Regions from separate parts of the Homo sapiens genome. Here all the other regions are linked to region 5. The links are contacts of gene promoters, found by promoter capture Hi-C in human tissues and cell types (Jung and others, 2019). All regions are on one chromosome and are shown on one strand. The core of a region is centred on a gene start or on the middle of the fragment in contact, and the rest is flanking DNA. Distances in the headings are between cores, read along the strand shown. Region 1 holds the start of RPL8 (ribosomal protein L8). Region 2 has its middle 16 kb from the start of COMMD5. Region 3 has its middle 6.2 kb from the start of COMMD5. Region 4 holds the start of ZNF251 (zinc finger protein 251). Region 5 holds the start of TONSL (tonsoku like, DNA repair protein). Region 6 overlaps ZNF251 (zinc finger protein 251). Region 7 holds the start of ZNF7 (zinc finger protein 7).

The links. Contacts are between HindIII fragments. The study calls those that stand out against the background at their distance.
Region 1: the fragment with the promoter of RPL8 here is called in contact with the fragment with the promoter of TONSL in region 5 in 3 of the 25 tissues and cell types used here (dorsolateral prefrontal cortex, mesendoderm cells and small bowel).
Region 2: a contact is called between a fragment that was not itself captured here and the fragment with the promoter of TONSL in region 5, in 1 of the 25 tissues and cell types used here (lymphoblastoid cells).
Region 3: a contact is called between a fragment that was not itself captured here and the fragment with the promoter of TONSL in region 5, in 1 of the 25 tissues and cell types used here (spleen).
Region 4: a contact is called between the fragment with the promoter of ZNF251 here and the fragment with the promoter of TONSL in region 5, in 4 of the 25 tissues and cell types used here (IMR-90 fibroblasts, bladder, heart right ventricle and 1 more).
Region 6: a fragment that was not itself captured here is called in contact with the fragment with the promoter of TONSL in region 5 in 2 of the 25 tissues and cell types used here (dorsolateral prefrontal cortex and spleen).
Region 7: a contact is called between the fragment with the promoter of ZNF7 here and the fragment with the promoter of TONSL in region 5, in 2 of the 25 tissues and cell types used here (dorsolateral prefrontal cortex and small bowel).

What each region holds. Positions count from the first base shown.
Region 1 is chr8:144,790,598-144,793,685 of GRCh38, forward strand. It overlaps RPL8 (ribosomal protein L8), which reads right to left and starts at 1,793. Exons shown (of 5, transcript NM_001317782.2): 1 at 1,395-1,793; 2 at 1,176-1,317; 3 at 680-898. The coding sequence starts at 1,532. MIR6850 (microRNA 6850) reads right to left here and starts at 1,394; the gene lies at 1,334-1,394. RefSeq lists enhancers at 1-472, 2,885-3,088 and a silencer at 1,495-1,714. The HindIII fragment of the contact is 17,129 bases long and covers 59-3,088 here.
Region 2 is chr8:144,867,649-144,870,489 of GRCh38, forward strand. No RefSeq gene overlaps it. Among named protein-coding and RNA genes, the nearest start is that of COMMD5, 16 kb to the left of the region's middle. The HindIII fragment of the contact is 3,133 bases long and covers 1-2,841 here.
Region 3 is chr8:144,845,281-144,848,460 of GRCh38, forward strand. It overlaps a transcript of ZNF7 not described here and a transcript of COMMD5 not described here. Among named protein-coding and RNA genes, the nearest start is that of COMMD5, 6.2 kb to the right of the region's middle. The HindIII fragment of the contact is 4,508 bases long and covers 1-3,180 here.
Region 4 is chr8:144,754,231-144,757,035 of GRCh38, forward strand. It overlaps ZNF251 (zinc finger protein 251), which reads right to left and starts at 1,301. Exons shown (of 5, transcript NM_138367.2): 1 at 1,175-1,301; 2 at 466-573; 3 at 1-91. The coding sequence starts at 498. All of the region lies in intron 2 of LOC107986986 (a long non-coding RNA gene), which reads left to right. The HindIII fragment of the contact is 22,211 bases long and covers 1-2,805 here.
Region 5 is chr8:144,442,896-144,445,819 of GRCh38, forward strand. It overlaps TONSL (tonsoku like, DNA repair protein), which reads right to left and starts at 1,545. Exons shown (of 26, transcript NM_013432.5): 1 at 1,495-1,545; 2 at 1,285-1,380; 3 at 987-1,129; 4 at 243-426. The coding sequence starts at 1,519. RefSeq lists an enhancer at 437-945 and silencers at 1,191-1,960, 2,001-2,140. The HindIII fragment of the contact is 9,197 bases long and covers 1-2,924 here.
Region 6 is chr8:144,727,395-144,730,208 of GRCh38, forward strand. The region is part of intron 4 of ZNF251 (zinc finger protein 251); the gene reads right to left. Among named protein-coding and RNA genes, the nearest start is that of ZNF251, 27 kb to the right of the region's middle. The HindIII fragment of the contact is 6,507 bases long and covers 1-2,814 here.
Region 7 is chr8:144,826,122-144,829,403 of GRCh38, forward strand. ZNF7 (zinc finger protein 7) reads left to right here and starts at 1,439. Exons shown (of 5, transcript NM_003416.4): 1 at 1,439-1,488; 2 at 2,922-2,969. The coding sequence starts at 2,967. It overlaps LOC100130027 (a long non-coding RNA gene), which reads right to left and starts at 919. Exons shown (of 5, transcript NR_147501.1): 1 at 1-919. RefSeq lists a silencer at 630-1,759 and enhancers at 1,091-1,616, 1,617-2,142, 2,143-2,668. The HindIII fragment of the contact is 13,991 bases long and covers 1-3,282 here.

The sequences.
Region 1 (3,088 bases), core at 543-3,042, 350 kb after region 5:
CCCTAGGGAGCCCCTTGCACCCTGTGAGCTGACATCCAGTTTCTTCAATCCACAATGGGCAGGCAAGCCAAGGCCCTCACCTCCATCACCTAGAATGCTGGCTGAGCTCCAAGCGCAGGGAAGCACCCCCCTCACCATGTGTGAGACGTCAGGCCGGCCACTCAACCTGACGTAAGACACTTGATTCAGCCTGCCCCATCTCAGCTTTACTTATTCCAGGAACACAACCTCAGAGCCTCCCCTGTGCGAGGCTGAGTTCATCACAAGGATTCCAAGATGTTCCCAAACAGCACAGTGAGTTAACCTAGACTCAAATCCTTTTTCACTCACTCAGTAGGCGTCTTTGAGAAAGCCACAATCTCTCCCTGCCTTCTCTAAAAAGGCTGTTAACCAACTGCATGCAAGTGCAGCAATCAGGAAGCCCACGGTAGAATCCAAGACCCTGGTGACTTCGTCCCAATCTCATTTAACGCCTCAACAGCAGTAAAGCAGGTACTGTTGTGCCTGTTGTACAGTGATGACAACTGAGACTACAGGATGAGCTCAAACTTACAGAACCCAAGTTTTAGAACAACAGGTAATCGAATTCCAGGGACCAAGTCTAGCCACTGGCTGTCCACCGGCACTCACAGCATGTTCACCCACAGCCCTCAGCATTCAACTGCTGCCTGATACTCACCAACCACAGCTCTGTTGGCTGAGGAGATAACCTTCTTGGAGCCGGAGGGCAGCTTCACACGGGTCTTCTTGGTCTCAGGGTTGTGGGAGATAACGGTGGCATAGTTCCCTGATGCCCGGGCCAGCTTGCCACGGTCTCCAGGCTTCTCCTCCAGGCAGCACACGATTGTACCCTCAGGCATGGTGCCCACAGGGAGCACATTGCCAATGTTGAGCTGGGCTGCAAGGGGAAGCAGCATCAGGCCGTCAGCACAGTAAGAAACAATGCGAACCCCCTCGCTCTAGGCAACCCGCGAAGTTGCGAGCACAGCATTCAACATCCAGCCTCCCGGTACAACTCTCTCGGCACCCACCGGTGGCCACTGGTCTGGCCACGCGGATGTCCCCACCTGAAGCTTCTGCCTGCGAGGTTCCCATATCGGCTTAGGACGTTAACTCCTCAGGCAACACCCAGACCCCTCCCCACCCCGACCTTCCTTCCCCGCCGCGATGCTAACCCTTCTTGCCGCAATACACAAACTGGCCCGTGTGAATGCCCTCGGCGGCAATGAACAGCTCCGTCCGCTTCTTAAACCGATACGGATCCCGGAAGACCACCTTGGCGAGGGGCGCGCCGCGGCCCGGGTCGTGGATGATGTCCTGTGGGCAGAGGCGGCGTGAGTGCGGCGTTCCGGCCGGGCGTCCCTTCCCCTCCCGCCCCGGCCAGCGTTCCGCACCTTGACGATGCCCTTGATGTAGCCGTGCCGCTCAGCGAAATCCACGGCGCGCAGGCGCGCAGCGCCTTTACGGTGCTTCACGTGCGCGCGGAACACAGACCCGGCGCCCTTCCTCTGTCCACGGATCACACGGCCCATGGCGACGGGTCCTGGGGGCGACTCACGATTAGCGCGGCCGGGCGGCCCGGGTACCCCCGCCAGCCCGGCTTTCCGGGACCCCGCCCCCGAGGCCGCCGCGCCCACCACTCCCTACCCTCTCCGCGGGCGCCCGCACCGGCATCCTCTCAGGAGGGCCGGTCCGGGTCTCAGCGCGCCTCACGGAAGAGGATGGCGGCGGATACTGCCCATGCCGCAAGGCCGCAAGGATGACCTACCTGTTCACCAGCGCGGCCGAAAGAGGAAACACGGCGTCAGCGAGCGGCCTTATCTTCCGGGGCGGGGCCCAGGGCCGCGACACCTTCCGGGCGCGCCACGGCCAGCCTAGCGCGGTGCACGCCGGGGCTTGTAGTCACCAGCGGCCGCCGGCCCCGCCTACTTCTCCTCCTCCAGGGCCCCCGCGCAGGCGCACCAGGAGACGCGGCTGAAGGTGTCCTGGTGTGCGTGGGCTCGGAAGGAGGGTGCAGGAGTGCTCGGCTTTCACCGGGGTCTCCGGGAGGGCAGGTGTTTTCTGAGTGGCCGAGGAGGCGCCAAGTGGTTGAGTGACCTGTCCAGGGTGTCACAGAGCGACCCACTCCGGGCCACGGGGTCTGGGGCTCCCGGCTTGCCTGGTGAGGGGCTTCCGTGTAGGCCGAGGGGGTTCTCGCTGGTGCAGAGCAGGAGATGGGCAGGGGAGACGCGTGGACCCACTCGTGGAACGTCATGGTTTGCAGGTGGCAAATGTCCGTCTCCCTGATGAACGGGCGCTTCTGGACGCGGGGACCTTATCCACTGTAGGCCCTTGGAGAGGTCGGGCGTCGAGGAGAGGAGCCCCGGGATCCTTGCCGAGGGTGAGGGCCGGCCGGCCCAGGAAGTGGGGAGGGCCAAGCTGGAGGGTCCCGGGTCGAGGAAGAAGGAGCGGGGATGGGCTGGGTCACATGCTGCGGAGTGGACGAATAATGGGAGACTGGACCGTACCCTGACCAGAACCCTGTGCGGGAGAGGTGGGGAAGGAGCAAGAAATGGAGGCTGGGAGGGGCTGTGGGGGCCTGAGCTGGAAAGAGTCAGCCCGACTGGGGGTGTCCTGCGGTACGTGCTGTGGAGAGGGGCTTCGCGGAATCGGGCCCCTAACGGGTGGGACCCCGAGGCCGCGGGTGGGGGATGGTGGGGAAGAGGTTTTCCAGGAGAGAGTCCCTGGCTGAGTGAGCACTGTCGAGCACACGCGAGGCCGTGGGTGGGGAGGCAGCAAGGAGGTGAAGGCGGGGGTCCCAGTGGGCGGGAGAGGCTTGCTGTCGGTACTGGGAGGTGGGGTGTTTCCTAGACCCTGCAGGGGCTGAGGCAGGGTTGACATCGTGAGAAGGAGACAGGAGAGGGTGGAAGGGTGTCCTGTGCCCGCTGTTGCTCACAGGGGAGAGGAGGGGCTGCTGCAGGAGGCCCTCCCCTAGGGTCGGCAGGGGGATGGAGGAGGAGCTGCCCGGTGGGGACTCAGGAAGCAGCACAGCCCACAGCTAGGGCCAGGGGCTGAGGGGCAGGACTGGACCCTGGGGGCAGGGTGAGGG
Region 2 (2,841 bases), core at 55-2,554, 420 kb after region 5:
GCGTTCAGTTTTAATGGAGTCTGCCAAGCCCTGGGCTTGGAGGTTCTGGATGGAAACATCCAAGAGTGGTGTCTTGAGGTTTTGAGGAGTGTTGCCCCATACTGCTGGCCAGAGGGTGAGAAATTTAGAGGATGGAAGTACCCCAGAGGGAAGTGAATACCCCGGAGGGGAGTGAGTACCCCGATTCCTCCTGGGAGAAGGGACCTAGGAGAGCCAGGGCGTCCCTACAGCTCTTTGCAGACCCCCAGAGGCTGCAGTGGCCAAAGTGGTGAGCATTCTGACGGCGTCCCCTGAGAGGGTAGGCCACGGTCACCTGGTGACCAGGGAGACCTCTCACCTGGTACTGGAATTTTCTGGTGAACCCCCAGAAATATGAGAGGAATCTGGAGAGGAAAAAAAGAGAGACTCACCCACTAATTGGAGACGGGTGTTGGATGTGATGTCCAGCAATGGGATTGATACTTGCTGGAGCTGCCTGGAAAGGGGAAGGAAGGAAAAAGAGGATGGAGAGTTTGATCAGGATCTGGAAGTCAGCCCAGGACCAGAGAAGAAGAGAGAATAAAGGAACGGAGCTGGGAATAGGGAGTCCATTCAGGATCTGGAAGCAGGCCTGGGTCTGGTTTTTGCTGCTTGCTGCTTTCCAGGTTGCTAGAAAACATTTACCCATTTAGAACCCAATTCCTATCCTGGGTTTTGGCACTAAAATGTTAGGTTTTGAAGGGAGGGCAAGGGCTAAAGAAACACACACACACACACACACACACACAGAGAGAGAGAGAGGAGAGAGAGGGGGGAGACAGACAGAGAGAGAGAGAGAGATTGTTGCTCAACAGCAACAACACAGGTATATTGCAAAAACCTGTGGAGATGGGGGACGAGCTTAACTCCAGAGCCCATAGCTGCTTATAGGCTGGGGAAATTTATAGGTGTGATGGTTAATACTGGAGAAATGTGAAAAGGCCAGACTGGCCTACCCTCCCAGCCTACATCTTTCTCCCATGCCGGATGCTTCCTGCCCTCCAACATCTGACTCCAAGTTCTTCAGTTTTGAGACTTGGACTGGCTCTCCTTGCTCCTGAAGCTTGCAGACAGCCTATAGTGGGACCTCGTGATTGTGTAATTTAATACTTCCCTTTTTATATATATTCCATTAGTTCTATCCCTCTAGAGAACTCTGACTAATACAGATTTTTGTACCAGGAGTGGTTCTGGAGGAAGAGGATATTAAGGATGGAGTTCTGTCATTGGTTTTGGGGTTTCTGGATTTGGCTGGTTAATATGATTAGACCCCAAAATGTTAAGGACTCTACTTCTAATAGTATGGAGAACACTGATAGTCCTTGGCATAAACTGTTTAGAGAGTTATGCAAAATAAATGCATTTGACACTCCTGATTCACCATTCATGAGAGGCAAGGAGTTTAGTGACCCTATACATAATATCTTTGACTATATGTGGAGAACCAAGGAACATGATGAAGCTGGTTGGTTGCTCCTAAGTTCAGTGGACAAAGTGATGAAAGAAAATGATGGCTGGGCTGGGCACAGTGGCTCACGTCTGTAATCCCAGCACTTTGGGAGGCTGAGGTGGGAGGATCATGAGGTCAGGAGATCAAGACCATCCTGGCTAACACAGTGAAACCCCATCTCTACTAAAAATACAAAAAATTAGCCAGGCGTGGTGGCAGGCGCCTGTAGTCCCAGCTACTCGGAAGGCTGAGGCAGGAGAATGGCATGAACCCAGGAGGTGGAGCTTGCAGTGAGCTGAGTTCGCACCACTGCACTCCAGCCTGGGTGACAGAGCGAGACTCCGCCTCAAAAAAAAAAAAAAACAAAAAAAAAAAGAAAGAAAACGATGGCTGGGCATGATGGCTCATGCCTGTAATTCCAGCACTTTGGTAGTGTGGGCGGCAAGCCACCCAGGTGCTGAGGCAAGAGACCGAGGGCACGAGCTGTTCCAGTATAATAAAATATATAAAACAACAAGTTATACTAGATCAGATCACAGACATGATTATATATGAATATCATTAATCATTAGTTTGTAGCAATTACTCTTTATTCCAATATTATAATAATCCTCACTCTATAATCATAACCTAGGAAAAACCAGGCCATACAGATATAGGAGCTGAGGGGACATAGTGAGAAGTGACCAGAAGACATGAGTGTGAGCCTTCTGTTATGCCCAGACAGGGCCACCAGAGGGCTCCTTGGTCTAGTGGTAACGCCAGCATCTGGGAAAACGCCTGTTGCCAAGTAGACCGTGGTCTAGCAGTAGCGTCAGTGCCAAGGAAAAATACCTGCTACTTAGCAGACCGGGAAAGGGAGTGTCCCTTTCCCTGGGGGAGTTTAGAGAAGACTCTAGTCCTCCACCTCTTGTGGAGGGCCTGACATCAGTCAGGCCTGCCCGCAGTTATCCAGGGGCCTAACCGTCTCCCTGTGATGCTGTGCTTCAGTGGTCACGCTCCTAGTCTGCTTTCGTGTTCCATCCTGTACACCTGGCTCTGCCTTTTAGATAGCAGTAGAAAATTAGTGAAAGTACTAAAAGTCTCTGATATGCAGAAATAATGGTGTAAGCTGTCTCTCTCTCTCCCTCTCTCTCTGCCTCGGCTGCCAGGCAGGGAAGGGCCCCCTGTTCAGTGGACACATGACCCACGTGGCCTTACCTATCATTGGAGATGGCTCACACTCCTTACCCTGCCCCTTTGTCTTGTATCTAATAAATATCAGTGCAGCCTGGCATTTGGGACCACTACCGGTCTCTGCGTCTTGGTGGTAGTGGTCCCCTGGGCCCAGGTGTCTTTTCTTTTCTCTTTGTCTTGTGTCTTTATTTCTATGC
Region 3 (3,180 bases), core at 411-2,910, 400 kb after region 5:
TTCCCATGACGCAGAGGCCCAGCAGGTGCAGGCACAGCTGAGAAACTCGGAGGTGAGGAGTGAGCCTGCTCTGTTGGGAGCTGGGGGGCCATTACCTCACCCCTCAGTTTTTTTTTTGCTGCTGACACAACCTTGAGAAGTGGCCCAGGTGGAGCACGGTGGGGTTCTTGGCACATGCAGGAACATGGAGGGAGGCGTGGCTGATGGCAGGTGGCTTGCTCAAGGCCTGATGCTTTTTTGCTGAAATTGAATTTTCACGTGAATCTGCTGCTCAACCCTAATCTAACAGGCTGGGACCTTGTCCATTTGATTTTCTCACACAGCATCTAATTAAGGCTGATATTCACAGGCATGAGGCCAACTGTAAGACCTCAACCCTGTCTCCACAGTCCTTGTCATTCAGGGGGAACCTGGAACTCCTGACTGGTGACCTCCCACCTGCCTCTTCAGGGGCTCCTCCCGGTGTACAAGGGTGATGGTGCTCTCCACAGCCATGGAGTCAGTGCATCCACTGTAACTGCCTCTTCTCCAGCCATGCCCTACTCACACCGGAACTTCTGTGCACGTGGAGTATGTGTGCAGTGTCCCTGCCTTGCGTCACGTGGCTGCTGAGAAGGGTCTTGGCAGGTAATGTGCTTAGCCAGGTGGTCACCTTCAGGTCTAGCACAGGGGTTGCTGTTGCTTTTTCTCTACTTCAGGCTTTCTGGGCCGCCCAACCATGGGACAAGAGCCAAGGCACCCACATGCACCGCCTGCAACTCCTGTTCCTGGCCTTCCAAAACACTGCTCACAAAGACTGACCCTGCCTCCTCCTGGGCTCTCGTCATCTCCTCTTGGCCACTTCCTGGTTCATGATCAGGACAGAAGGAGGGGAACGTCAGCCATATGGATGGTCTGAAAATTCCAGATTCTGTGCTAACCATAATGCTGTGTTCTTTTCACTAACAGCAACCAGCCAAAAAGGGGCTGGGGTGCAAGCTTCATTCTGCTTCAGCACCTGGATTCTCTCTGGATTGACATGGTCCTAAGTCAGGGGCTGGCAAACCATTCGTAGCTTTTTACATTTCTGAATGGTTGGGGAGAAAATAAGAGACTTGTGACATTTGAAAACTATGTTAAAATCGAATTTGACTGTGCACAGTGTCCCTGGGCTTGGTGATGCCCAAGCGTCTTCATGGAGCCTCTGGCGGCTTTCTTGCTGCAGCAGTGTTTACCACACCAGCCAAGTCACCTTGAACTTGGAAAATGACTTCATGCCCTCCAGCCACTGAAGGATTATTTTTCCTCTCAGCCCTTAGTGGTTTCTTTACCTAAATGTCACGGTACAACTGAGAATAAGGCAGCTGGGTCAGTTCAATAGAAGTAAACCTAAAGTCCAACAATCCAGGTTAGATATTAGCCACGGAGGGATGGGAGGAGGAGTCTTCTTTTTTTTTGAGACGGAATCTCGCTCTGTCCCTCAGGCTGAAGTGCAGTGGTGCGGTCTCGGCTCACTGCAAGCTCCGCCACCTGGGTTCACGCCATTCTCCTGCCTCAGCCTCCCGAGTAGCTGGGACTACAGGTGCCTGCTACCACGCCCGGCTAATTTTTTTGTATTTTTAATAGAGACGGGGTTTCACTGTGTTAGCCAGCTGGTCTCGATCTTCTGACCTCGTGATCCGCCCGCCTCGGCCTCCCTAAGTGCTGGGATGACAGGCGTGAGCCACCATGCCGAGCTGAGGAGGAGTCCTCTTCTAGCTGCACGATGTGGAAATGACACATCATGTCCATGGGGCAGCTTGCTGAGAGCCAAGGGTGTGAGCACATGACTTAAATTCAAGCTACTGCACAGCTTTGAGATCTGAGTATCACATGGAAGCATCCAGGTGGCCCCTGGCACACAGGCTGGTGGTTCTTTTGTGGAGAGGGAGAGGAAGAGGGGCTGCTCATGGGGTAGTGCAGGTGCTAGAATATCCTGTTAACCTGTTCACACTGCACTGCAATTCGGGCTTCGGTAAGCTCATCTAAAGAGTTTCCAGGCCAGGCACGGTGGCTCACGCCTGTAATTCCAGCACTTTGAGAGGCCAAGGAAGGATCACGTGACCCCAGGAGTTCGGAGACCACAGTGAGCTGTGATCGCACCACTGCACTCTAGCCTGGGTGACAGAGTGAGGCCCTGTCTCCACAATATATAAATAAAAACATTTTGGGTTTCTGTTTTGGAGACAATAAATTAAATCTATAACCTAGGCCTGGAATTGCTTTTTATCTCAACTATCAGAATAATCTTTCATTTATGACACTGAATTGAAACTATCTGGACCTTTCTGGAAGCTTCACAAAGTGAAGCAGAGCAAGGGCCGGGTCCAGGCCATTTTATAAATCCTCAAGTCCCCAGTGCATGCAGCTTGACTCAGAGCCCCAGAAATGTTTGCTGAATGAGTGAGTGATGCAGGTGGGGAGGCATCCAGGCTTTGAGCTCAGGACAGTGCCACAGGAGAGGGAAATCACCAGCAAGTTTCCACAGAGAACTAAGGCCAAGAAAACCAAGGGAGTAATTTCCCAGATGCAGACATCCGTTCTCTGTGCAAGGCCTTGTGCAAGCCACGGGGACAAAGATGGACAGGGCTGGCCTCTGCCCTGGAGTCCAGGTCTAATGGAGACTGGCCACTGACAAGGATGGACAGGTGCTCTGTACTGGAGGGGTCCAGTGGGCTCATGGGGTTGGCGCCAACCATGCCTGGACTAAGAATGGTTTTTCAATGGAAAAAAATACTTTGTGACACATGAAATTAAAATTTCATGGCTGGGTGTGGTGGCTCATTGCTGTAAAACCAGCACTTTGGGAGGCCGAGGTGGGCAGATCACCAGAGCCCAGGAATTCAAGACCAGCCTGGGCAACGTGGCAAAACCCCATCTCTACAAAAAATCTGAAAATTAGCCGGGTGTGGTGTGGTGTGCCTGTGAGCCCAGGAGGTTGAGGCTACAGTGAGCCATGATCGTGCCATTGCATTCCAGACTGGATGATGGGGAGACCTTGTCTCAAAAAAAAAGGAAAATTTCAATATCCATTAAAAAAATATCATTGGAGGCCAGGCTCGGTGGCTCATGCCTGTAATCCCAGCTGCCTGGGAGGCTGAGACATGAGAATTGCTTGAACCTGGGAGGCAGAGGTTGCAATGAGTCGAGATCGTGCCACTG
Region 4 (2,805 bases), core at 51-2,550, 310 kb after region 5:
CCCGGTAGAGCGCCCGCTGCTGGGGGCCCAGCTGCCGCCCCTCCGCCTGAGAGAAGTACACGGCCACATCCTGGAAGGTCAGCGGCATCTCCTGCAACAAAACATCGCCGCTGCCCAGGCCATGCCCACGGGGCAGCAGCCTGCACTAAAAGGGCCCTGACCTGGTGGGGCCCCACTACCCAGGGCCCTGCTGTGGTCAGTATGAACTGTGTATCAGCAGGTCCCTGATGGGGCAGCTGAGAGCGCTGAGGACCAGCCAACTTCAGCTACACGGGGACCCAGCTGAGCTCAGAGCCCCTCTCCCTGCAGGAGGGCGAGTCTACCTCTCAGAACCCTTTCCTCACGGTTGCTATGAGCCCCTGGCTGGCCTTACCAGTTGCCGGGCTCACGGCTCCAGAGGAGAGTAGCTTCTGACTGGGATGGGGATGAAGATGAAGAGGTGGGCAGGAAGGAGGGTTAACTCACCTGGTGCCCTGGAAGCTGGAATGTGGCTGCCATTCTGTGTGCATGGGCTGCTGTGGTTTCCAAGAGAAGACAGGAGACTGCCCTGGCCTGAAGTCTCCCCGAACTTACCTTCAGTGGGGAGAACTCAGGCTCAGCCCCATTCAACCAGGGGTGTGGAAGGATGGCCAGGAGGCAGAAGCTGATTGCTGCTGTGGCCTCCTGGGTCGCGGGAGGCAGGTCACTATGCAGCACGGGCCGACGTGCCCTACTGCTCAGTGACTCCTGAAATCCCAGAACGGCCAGAGCCAGAGCCCGGGGGGATCCAGGGACGCCCGGCTAAGGGGTGAAAGCTGGCAGTTCCCGTGGTCCAGACCTGCTGAAGGCCCTGGAAATGGGGTGCAGGGCCGTTCTACCTGCCTGGCCAACCTGGGGCAAAGAGCCACGTGAGGGTGCAGCCTCACCAAGGCTGAGGACGTGAGAAGGAGGCCGCGGGGATGCTGCCGAAGGCCCCAGGCTCCGGGGAGAGGCCGGAAGCCAGCTGTGGTCCTCAGTCCAGCCTTCTAGGGCCGCGCCGCGGTCGCCTCCTCCCGGCCTCTGCAGCCCGTCGGTGGCTCCCGCGGCACCCAGAACAGGCTCCTCCTGGACTGGCCGCCGCCTCCCCGCGCCCTCCCCGCGCCCTCCCCGCCTGCCTGCCCGCTTGGCGCTCCTTCCTGGTCCGACACTGCCCCACCTGTTTGCTCGACCCGGGGAAGCCACCGAGGAAGCGCCGAGGAGCTGCGCAGTCGCACCGAGCCCGGAACGGACCCTCCCACAGAACCGGGTCCAGAGCCGGGGAGGGGGCGGGCTAGGATGAAGAGGGCGGGCCGGGCCGAGCTGCGCACACGCAGGCTTCCCCGCCCCCTGCGGGGCCTCAGTACGCCTCCGAGAACGCCGGGAACCGGAAGCCAGCCGCGGTTCCGCCCGGATTCTTCCGGGGCCGCTCTGGGATGACTGGAGGCCTGCGCCGTCTATGGTCGGGGAGGGGGAGAGCCCACGGCAGCTGAGCGGAGGGTCTGGCGCGGTGACGCTGCGCATCCGGGCCGCGCCGCGCTCGCCCCGACCCTAAACCCTCACCTGAACCCTAACCCCGCTGGGCTCCCGGCTCCCCCGTCGGTCACCATACATCGTGTGTCCCGATTCACCATAACCACCAGAAAGTCGCTTATGAAGATGTTACAATTATCGGGGCTCAGAACACAACGCCCCAAAATGAAGGCCTGGGAGGCAGTTTCCCTCTGACCTTCCCAGGCCTCCAGTCTCAGTTCTTTTCTCCCGCGAGGCTCCTCACAGAGTGAATCCCTTTTACCCAAGGCGAGTCCCAGAGGCCAGACCCCCAAAGCCAGCCACAAAACCTAAAAACACGACTCTGATGTTCCCCCCGCTTTTCTGTGTGAAAACTGGCGGTAAAGGCCGGGCGTGGTGGCGGGCGTCTGTAGTCCCAGCTACTCCGGAGGCTGAGGCGGGAGAATCGCTTGAACCCGGGAGGCGGAGGTTGCAGTGAGCCGAGATCGCGCCACTGCACTCCAGCCTGGGTGACAGAGCGAGACTCCATCTCAAAAATAAATAATAAATAAATAAATAATCCATTTATTTGCCTTTTCTCCAAAAATCTGCCTTTTATGAGTTGGCTTTCAGTGAACCTTCAGAGGGCAAAGAGGAACTTTCCCTTTGGCCCCTACACAATAAAGCATGGTTGAAAAAATAGCACTTGATAAAGGTGAGGAGACCAGCTTAGGAGCAGGGGGAGAAGGAAAGGAAAGCCAAGCCATCTTGTCACCCAGAATATAGTGTAGGCCCTGTACACTGTGTTAGAATCAAGGCAGAAATTTTATATCTGAACTTGAGACGATCAACGAGGATGGAGAATGTCTAGAAGTCTAAAGCACCATGCAAAGTCACACATGATTAAGAAGATGCCTTACATTATTAATATCAGTGCTGGGGAGATTGTGGAGAATTACGCACTGCTATGCTTGAGGAAGCGTGTTTAGTACAATGTTGAAAATGAATTAAGCTGTACATAAAGAGCCTTAAACACTTCAATTAATCTAGGAATCTATCCTATGGAAATAACAAAAATGACAAAGAGAAGGGTGCCCATTCCAGAGTTTGTTGTGTGTGTGGTTTTTTTTAAATAATGGGGAGAATTTGGAAAATAGCTAGTTATTCATAGAAGGGGAAATGGAAGATAATTATGCTTTTTGCAGCACAGAAATAGATAAATCTATTGTCTTCTGTACACTCAGTTGAACATTATGCAGCCATTATGTGTGGTATTTGAAAAAAAAGTATTGGCAGAGGGTAATGCTTATGAAATAGAAT
Region 5 (2,924 bases), core at 295-2,794:
TCCTACCCCCTCCCTCCTCCCGAGGTGGGTGCAAGTGTCCTGCGGCAGATGGAGCACAGAGTGGATAAAGAGCTGACGATCTCCAGGGGAAAGGTTGAGCGGGGCATGCACCCCTCACACAAGAGCCTTGCAAAGGGAGGGCTCCAGAAGACGGGATTGCCCAAGGAGGCTGCGGGGGTGCTGGGCTGCAGCCTCTTCGGCCCGAAGTTCAGGAGGCAGAAAACGCGGAGGGGTCTGCCCACCCTCCAGCTCCTCATCCACAATAGCCAAGCTCTTCTCAAAGGCAGCCTGTGCCTGCAGCAAAGCATCCCTCGACTGGCAGTGGTCATAGATGTCCAGGTGGGTGCGGCCGATGGTGGCCCAGGCCCTCTGCAGCTCCGTGTGGTTGCGCAGGGAATGTGCCAGCTCCAGGTACTGGTGCTGGTGCTGAGTGTGGAAGGAAGTCACTGCTGTGAGCCGACTCCGCCTCAAGCAAACCGGCACCGCCAGATTCCCAGAGACCCTGTTCTTGCTAAGGAAAGAGCCTGCTCCCCCTAACCCCCACAGAGCAGGCCAAGGCCAGACACGTGCCCCTCCTCTGCATGCCAAGGGCTCTCTGTGGTGACAGTGGCTTCACGCTGTATGCAGCCAACGCTGTCACGTGGGGAGGGGCAGCTGGGAGTTGGCGGGGGGGTTGCAGTCCTGCCTCCAGCAGCCAGGGTCAGGGAGAGCTTTTGGGATGGGGCCTGACCTCCCCCAACACAAACACAGCTAAAATAACGTTCAGTAATGGTTTCTGGTGCCAGGAAACCTACTCCTGCCCCAGTCCCAGGAAAGGCTGTGGGGTCCCCACCGGAGGACTGGCCCGGGGCGGTGAAGGCAAGGCTGCGTCAGGTCAGGTGTCCCCTCCAGCCCGAGGCTCCTGACGGCGAAGACCAGGCCTCCCTCCTCAGAAAAGGGCTCCAGAGGCCGACCGGGCTGGACGAGGCCAGTGAGGGCGCCCGCACCTGCAAGGCAGCCGGGTAGTCCTCCATCTCGGCCAGGCGCTCTCCGATCTTGCGGTGGGCCACGGCACAGCCCAGAGGGTCGTCAGCGCGCTCCCGAAGCTGCAGCTCCTGCCAGTGCTGCTCCAGAGCCTCGGCGTAGCGGCCTAGGCGGGGGCACAGCACGGCCTGGCAGGCGTCGCGGGTGCGAGGGCGGCCCTGGGGCGGCGTCTGCCGGAAGAGCCCGTCGCCCCCCGGCCCCCGATCCCGGCCCGGGCCCGGGCCCCGGCCCTGCCTCCCGCCTCCTGGTCCCGGCGCTCACCATGGCCGGCCAGGAGCTCCCCCAGCTGGTGGCACAGCGCGGCCTCTTCGCGCCGCTGCCCGGCCCTCTGCGCCTTGGCTTTCGCCTTGCTCAGCTCTGTGGGAGGAAGAGGAGGGCTGGGCCTCCGCGGCGGGGTCCGGGGCCGGGGCCGAGTCCCAAGCCCTCCCCAGCCTCCGCGCCCCCGGAGGAAGGGGTCCCCGAGGAACTTACGGCGAAGCTCGCGCTCCAGGCTCATGCTCGGATCGCCGCGGGATCCGGACTTCCCGCGCTGCGCCGCGGCCCCGCCCCTCGCCGCCGACACGCAGGCCCCGCCCCTCGCCGCCGACACGCAGGCCCCGCCCCTCGCCGCCGACACGCAGGCCCCGCCCCTCGCCGCCGACACGCAGGCCCCGCCCCTCGACGGCGGCGGCGGGCGCGGGGCATTCCGGGAAGTACGGTCGGCCCGCCCGCGGCATCCTCGGAGTTCTCGTGCGGGAGGAGCTGGGGCGGGGTGGCGGCGACAACTGGGGCGTCCCACCCTAGGGGCCGTCTTCCCGGACGCCGGGTTGGCCCGCGCGTGGAGCCCTCTGCCCGGCCCGGGGAGTGCCTGGTGGGGACCCCGTTCCTCCTCGTAGGCGGCGGGGACGCGGGAGGCCGGGGGCCCGGAGCCAGCCCGTCCGGGGTCGCAGCGCGCCCTGGGTGGGGTCTTCTGGGCTGCAGCCCCCGTGCCGCCCGCGCTACTCATGGTGGACGAGCTGTGCCGCCGCCCCAATTCCTCCCGAAATTCACACACACAGCCTGCTCACAGGCGCAACTATTAAAAACGAACGTAGTGTCCAGATAGACTGACGATAAATTCACGAGCATTTGGCTGTGGGGACGTAATAAGGTGTCAGGCGCGCTCCTCCTCCGCAGAACGCAGCTGGGTCACATTTGGGGACTCGGCCCCAAGGACTGTTTTGGGAGGGGAATGTGCTTTCCATAGTGAACAAGTATTGTTTCAGCAATGTGTATGCCAGCTGTATTCTCGGAAGAGTCAGTGAACCTGTGCTTCAGCTGCAGAAGTAGCCCGGGCACAGTGGCCCGCACTGTAATCCGAGCGCTATGGGAGGCCCGGTCAGGAGGATCGCTTGAGCCTAGCAGTACGAGACCAGCCTGGGCAACATAGTGAGGCCCCATCTTTCGTGTGTGTGTGTGTGTGAGACGGAGTCTCGTTCTGTCACCCAGGCTGGCGTGCAATGGTGTGATCTCGGCTCACCACAACCTCCGCCTCCCGAGTTCAAGCGATTTTCCTGCCTCAGCCTTCCAAGTAGCTGGGACTACAGGCGCGTGCCAGCATGCCCGGCTAATTTTTGCATTTTAGTAGAGACGGGGTTTCACCATGCTGGCCAGGCTGGTTTCAAACTCCTGACCTTGTGATCCGCCCACCTCGGCCTCCCAAAGTGCCGGTATTACAGGTGTAAGCCACCATGCCCAGCCCGATACCCCATCTTTATTTAAAAAAAAGAAAGGGAGGGAGGGAGGAAAAGAAAGAAAGGAAGAAAGAGAGGGCCGGGCGCAATGGCTCACCCCTGTAATCCCAGCACTTTGGGAGGCTGAGGCAGGCAGATCATGGGGTCAGTGGATCGAGACCATCCTGGCTAACACGGTGAAACCCCATC
Region 6 (2,814 bases), core at 130-2,629, 280 kb after region 5:
CTGTTTTGTCTACACTGAAAATCTATTATTCAGTGTAGCCACCTTCATCAATCATCTTAGCTAGGTCTTCTGGACAACGTGCTGCAGCTTCTCCATCAGCAGTGGCTGCTTCACCTTGTGCTTTTGTTATGGAGACTACGTCTTTCCTTAACCCTCATGAACCAACCTCTGCCAGCTTCAAGGTTTTCTTCTGCAGCTTCCTTACCCCTCTCAGCTTTCGCATAATTGAAGAGAGTTGGGGCCTTGCTCTTGAGGCGAAGCTTTGGCTTAAGGGAATGTGTCTGGTTTGATCTTCTATCCAGACAGTTTGAGGGGGACTGAAACTGTCTCCATATCAGCAATAAGGCTGCTGTACCTTCTTGTCATTCATATGTTCACCAGAATAGCACTCCCAATTTCCTTCAAGAACTTTACTTTTTACTGTTATTTTCTTTTTGAGACAGGGTCTCACTCTGTCACCCAGGCTGGAGTGCAGTGGTGTGATCATAGCTCACTGCAGCCTCAAACTCCTGGGCTCAAGCGATCCTCCTGTCTCAGCCTCCTGAGAAGCTGGGACTACAGGCTTGATCCACCACGCCTGAAGAAGTTTTGCTTTGCATTCACAACTTAGCTAACAGACGCAAAAGGCCTGGCTTTGGCCTGTCTCAGTTTTCACCGCACCTTCCTTACTAAACTTGGTCATTTCTAACATTTGCAATAAAGCGAGAGGTGTGTGACTCTTCCTTTCATTTGAACACTTATAGGCCATTCCAGGGTTATTAATTGGCCTAGTTTCGATATTGCTGAGTCTCAGGGAATATGGAGGCCCTAGGAGAGAGAGAGGGAGGTAGGGAATGGCTGATCAGTGGGTCAGGACAGCCAACACTCATCGATTAAGCTCACCGTCTCATACAGGCAGAGTTCATGGTGCCCTTGAAACAATTACAATAGCAACATTAAAGATCGCAGATCACAGAGCACCATAACAGATATAAAAAAAAGGTTTGAGGCCAGGCGCAGTAGCTCATGCCTGCAATCCCAGCACCTTGGGAGGCCGAGACGGGCGGATCACGAGGTCAGGAGATCGAGACCATCCTGGCTAACATGGTGAAACCTCATCTCTACTAAAAATACAAAAAATTAGCCGGGCGTGGTGGTGGGCGCCTGTAGTCCCAGCTACCCGGGAGGCTGAGGCAGGAGAATAGCATGAACCCGGGAGGCGGAGCTTGCAGTGAGCCGAGATCGCGCCACTGCACTCCAGTCTGGGCGACAGAGCAAGGCTCCGTCTCAAAAAAAAAAAAAAAAAGGTTTGAAATACTGCAAGAATTACCAAAATGTGACACAAAGAAGTGAGCACGTGCTGTTGAAAATGGCACTGACAGACTTGCTCAACACAAGGTCGTCACAAACCTTCAATTTGTAAAAAAAAATGTTCGCCAGGCGCAGTGGCTCGCACTTGTAATCCCAACAGTTTGGAGGCCCAGGGGGGCAGATCACCTGAGGTCAGAAGTTTGAGACCATCCTGGCCAACATGGTGAAACCCTGTCTCTACTAAAAATACAAAATTAGCCAGGCATGGTGGCGCGCGCCTGTAATCCCAGCTACTTGGGAGGCTGAGGCAGGAGAATCACTAGAACCTGGGAGGCGGAGGTTGCAGTGAGCTGAGATCGCGCCATTGCACTCCAGCCTGGGCGACGAGCAAGACTCCATCTATGGAAAAAAAAAAAAAAAAAAAGCAGCAGTATCTGCAAAGCCACAACAAAGTGAAGTGGAATAAAATGAAGTGTGCCTGACCTATATTCATGTTAAAATTTAAAAATACGAGTTTACTCCTAAAGCTCCTGGTTATAAAAGTCAAAAGAAAAATTGGGATAAAAACGAAAACAAAATTTTATGTCATTTTCTCCATGCGTAGTGCCCTTTTAGCAAGCATATAAGATTCCTTTTATTTATTTATTTTTATTTTTTTTTTTTTTTTTGTGAGATAGAGTCTTGCTCTGTCGCCCAGGCTGGAGTGCAGTGGCGCAATCTCGGCTCACTGCAAGCTCCGCCTCCCGGGTTCACGCCATTCTCCTGCCTCAGCCTCCCGAGTAGCTGGGACTACAGGCGCCCGCCACCACGCCCGGCTAATTTTTTGTATTTTTAGTAGAGACGGGGTTTCACTGTGTTAACCAGGATGGTCTCGATCTCCTGACCTCGCCATCCACCCGCCTCGGCCTCCCAAAGTGCTGGGATCACAGGCGTGAGCTACCGCACCCGGCCTAAGATTCCTTTTAAATGCCAGGGTCCTCCCTGATGTCTCATATCAACGTAACTGCCCGCTTAAAAATAGATCTCTTGGGATGGGCATGGTGGCTCGCGCCTGTGATCCCCGCACTTTGGGAGGCTGAAATGAGAGGAGAGCTTGAGCCCACGAGGTGGAGGCTGCAGTGAGCTGAGACCGCACCTCCGCACTCCAGCCTGGGCAGCAGAGTGAGACCCTGTCTCTGAAGAACCAAAACCAAAACAGATCTCTCATCAGGCTATCAACAGGTTACATGTGTTTTTTGTGACTACTCAGATAAAGATGTTCAATTGTAACAGTTTCTCAACATTGCAGGCAGGGCTGAGCCCACCCAGGGCTGGCGTTGTTCCCAGGAGCGGGTGCCCTCACCCACCAACTCGAGGCCGCTCACTCACTGTGCAGCTGTATGGCAGGCCCAGCAGTGCCTCTCCCTTCGTACATCACCAGAGTCGGCTGAAAAGTGCCAAAAGAGAACTCAGGAACCAAACAGGGAAGTGGAGAGCCATGTTTTATCCACCGGGCCTAAAGCCCCTCCAGGCGCGGGGCCCAGA
Region 7 (3,282 bases), core at 189-2,688, 380 kb after region 5:
CAGTGGATGGAGGAAGCCCCCTCGCCCCAGACAGGACCTCAGGGCCTCAGAGCCCTGGCATCTGCACCCTGGACACAAGGAAGGTGCCTATGAGGTGGATGCTCTAGCCAGGCTTTCTCCCCCTCCTGCTCCTGTGTTACCCTGGTGTGCCCCCCTCACCTGCAGCAGGCCAGGTTGGGGCATAGGGTTGCCGGCCCCTACCAGCCCTGGGGGTCTGGAGGGCGGCTGGGGAAGCAGACCCCCTGTCCTTCCCTATCCTTCGCGACATGCTCCCTGAGCAGCTGCAGTCCACTTAGATGACCAGAGAGGATGTGGGGCTGAGGGAGCCGAACTCGGGGCAGCAGGGGCGGGGGTGGGAGTGCCGGGATCATCCGCACCGGGAGAGGCGAGGCCGGCGTCTGTTTTTCACCTGGGCCTCCCTGGGGGGCTGGGGGCTGCCTGACTCTTCCCTCCTTTGGTTTGCGCAAGTTTTCCCGCGCGGGTTCGGATCAACACGCCGGGGGAGCCCGGCTTACGTCCCTCCTGGACCCCCGCCCCGTTCTTCCCGTGGGGAGGGGCGCGTCAGGCGGACCTGGCACCCTCCGGCTGCTGGGCTTCGCCGGGAGCCACGCGGGGAGGTCCAGGCAGTCGGGACGCAGGCAGCGTCCTCGCCGAGGCTGCGAGTCCGTGGCCGTCCGGGGGAGGCGCGCAGGCTCTGCCGGACGCAGAAGGAACCCGAAGGAGGCGGGGTGGAGGGCGGTGCGGGGCCGGGGAGGGGCGAGGCGAGTGGCGAGTGGACGCCGGGCCCGGCCTCGGGCAACTCCGAGGGGCGCCCTTCCTCGGGGTCCCGGAGGCTCTGCGACCCCGCGGCCGCTCCAGCCGCTCACTGGGGACAAGGCCCGAGCCAGGCGTCTCCGCGAGGCGGGGTCCATAGCGCGCCCAGCAGGCGCCTCCTGTCGCAGGGACGCGGGGGAGCGGCGCCTGAACAGCCTCGGTGGGAACCAGCGCCCGAAGCTGGTGATCCGGGGTGCGCAGGGCCCAACCGGGCGATCCCCTGGATCTCCGCCAGCCTCGCCCCGACTCCGCTCCTCCCACCCGCCAGCGAGTCCGCAACTCCCGGCCCCGGCCCGCGTCCCCAGCTCCAGGCCCCGGCCCCGCCCCGCCCCTGCTCAGGCACCGCCCACTCCGGGCTCTGGGCCCTCCTCTCCCTCGCGGCTCCGCCCCCTGCCCGCCTCTGACTGTACCCCGCCCCCAGGCGCCAGCCCCGCCTATCTGGGCTTCTGGTCCCGCCCAGGTTCTTGTCCCTCGGGCCCCAGCCTCGCCCCTCCTCGGCTCTGACTCCACCCCTTCTCCGGAGCCTGGGAGGCGGGGCTGAGAACCACAGAGATGGCCGGGCCTCCGAGCGGCCCAGGGCGGCCGGAAGTTTGCGGGGCGGGGCGGACGCGGGTGGCCAAGGCCCGTTTCCGGCGGCGTCGCGCGTTTGCGAGCCTCGGGTGGTCCTCAGGGAGGGTGAGTCGGCGCGGCGGGCGCGGACTCGGGTTGCCCTCGGTCCGAGTGATCCCTGGTCGCTTCCTTAGCCCTCCCGCCTTCGGCATTGGGGTCCCCGCGTCCCCCGGGCCTCCAGGCGGGAAAGCGCGGGGGCTTTGCGGGGCCTTGAGCGCCTGGTGTGGGAGGTGGTCGAGCCCAGCCACCCTCCCCCGCGGCGGCGCGAGGTGGGCTTCGTTTGGCCGAGTCTCGCAGCTCCCCGCAGACCCCGCTCGTGGCGGCCACGGTGTCCGGGGCCTGAGTAAGGCGAGCTCCAGCTGCGGCCTTTTCTTCAGGCCTGGGTCTACTCCCGGGGCCCTGACTCCTCCTGCGAAATCACCTCCTTCTAGAGCCTTTTCTCTTTCTATTTATTGCCCCGGAAGGCCTAGGATAAGTGACAGTGGAGGAAGGAACGGTGCCTTGGGTGGGGTAGGCTGTTTGTCTTCTCTAAATTCTGGTTGCTATTCCGGGCATTCCTACTGTCAGGAGCCAGGTGGGGGGATCAGCCTACCTGTGCCGGTGACCTGGGGCTTCCACCCACAAACCACTTTCTGGGCCAGAAGCTGCCATACGAAGACTCTTTTTCCCATTCCGACCTCCCGGGGGAATGCCTGGGCAGGTAGAGGGTCTGGGGTCATTGGCTTAATTGAGGTGAACGATTTATATCAGATTACATCCCTGTGCCTGGTTCCATCCTGGCGACAGGTGAGCTGGAGACTGGAATTTATGTACTTGAGGGCAGGGGTTTCCATGTCCACTCTTGTCTTCCCTACAGTTTGTCATTTTTGCTCCTGCCTTCTCCAACCTCCAGTCGCTCACTGCCTTCCCCAACCTCCAGTCGCTCACTGCCTTCCCTTGCTGCCGGGAATTTACCCACACTGGTTCATCCAACCCCATTTCTTCTTGCTTCAGGCCCTTTCACATGCTATTCCTGCTGCCTGGAGTGCTCTCTCCACCTCCATTACCTTGGCCGAGGTCCCTGGGGAAGTGACCCATTACACTGAACGTTCTAGTCTAAGTGGCTTTCATAGTTCCCTGTACTTGAGCGCTGTCGTGGTTGCAGTGTGCTTATTTGTGTGGTTATTTAACTCTTTCCTCCGCCAGACTGCTTCGTGAAGGCAGGGTCCTCGTGTCCACTACTGTATCCCCATTACTCAGTGCCTGGCACGTGGCATCCACTTCTTACGGCTTTGTGGAGTGAGTCACACATGCCACACACACATACACTCTAAAGAGGAACAAGAGTTCAGTGGGCCTCCTTCACTCAAGTGCCATGGCTGCTTCAGCCCAGCCCCATGTCCCTGCTAGAGAAATCTGGGGCTGGAGGTAAAGGAGCAGAGAGCACAGTACCCCCTTGATTAGCCTGGAAGTTGGGCTTCTGGCACCTTGACCTCTAATCCTTTCATAATTGCCAACAGGTCTCTCGGCCAGAACACGTGGATGCCCACCCACCACTGAGCCTCATGGTAGGAAGCTTGACTGCCTCCTTCCCCTCGCATGTCCTGTGAAGGCCCACCTCCTGCTCTGCCCACTGGCCCTGGGCCCAGACCCTACCTTGGCCCTTGCTGGGCTTAGGAAGGCCCCCTTGCCCCCAACCCCAAGGTAGTGAGCAAACCCCTGCCCAAACCAGGGCCTAATTGAGGCTCTTGAGGGGGGAGGGTTGTATGACCACCATGGACTGGGTTCCTTCCTCCTCCCCGAGACTGCCCCTCCCCAGAATATTAGAGGCAGAGGAGTCCTGGTGAGCGTCTCGCCCAACCCCATGGGGCAGCTGCCTGA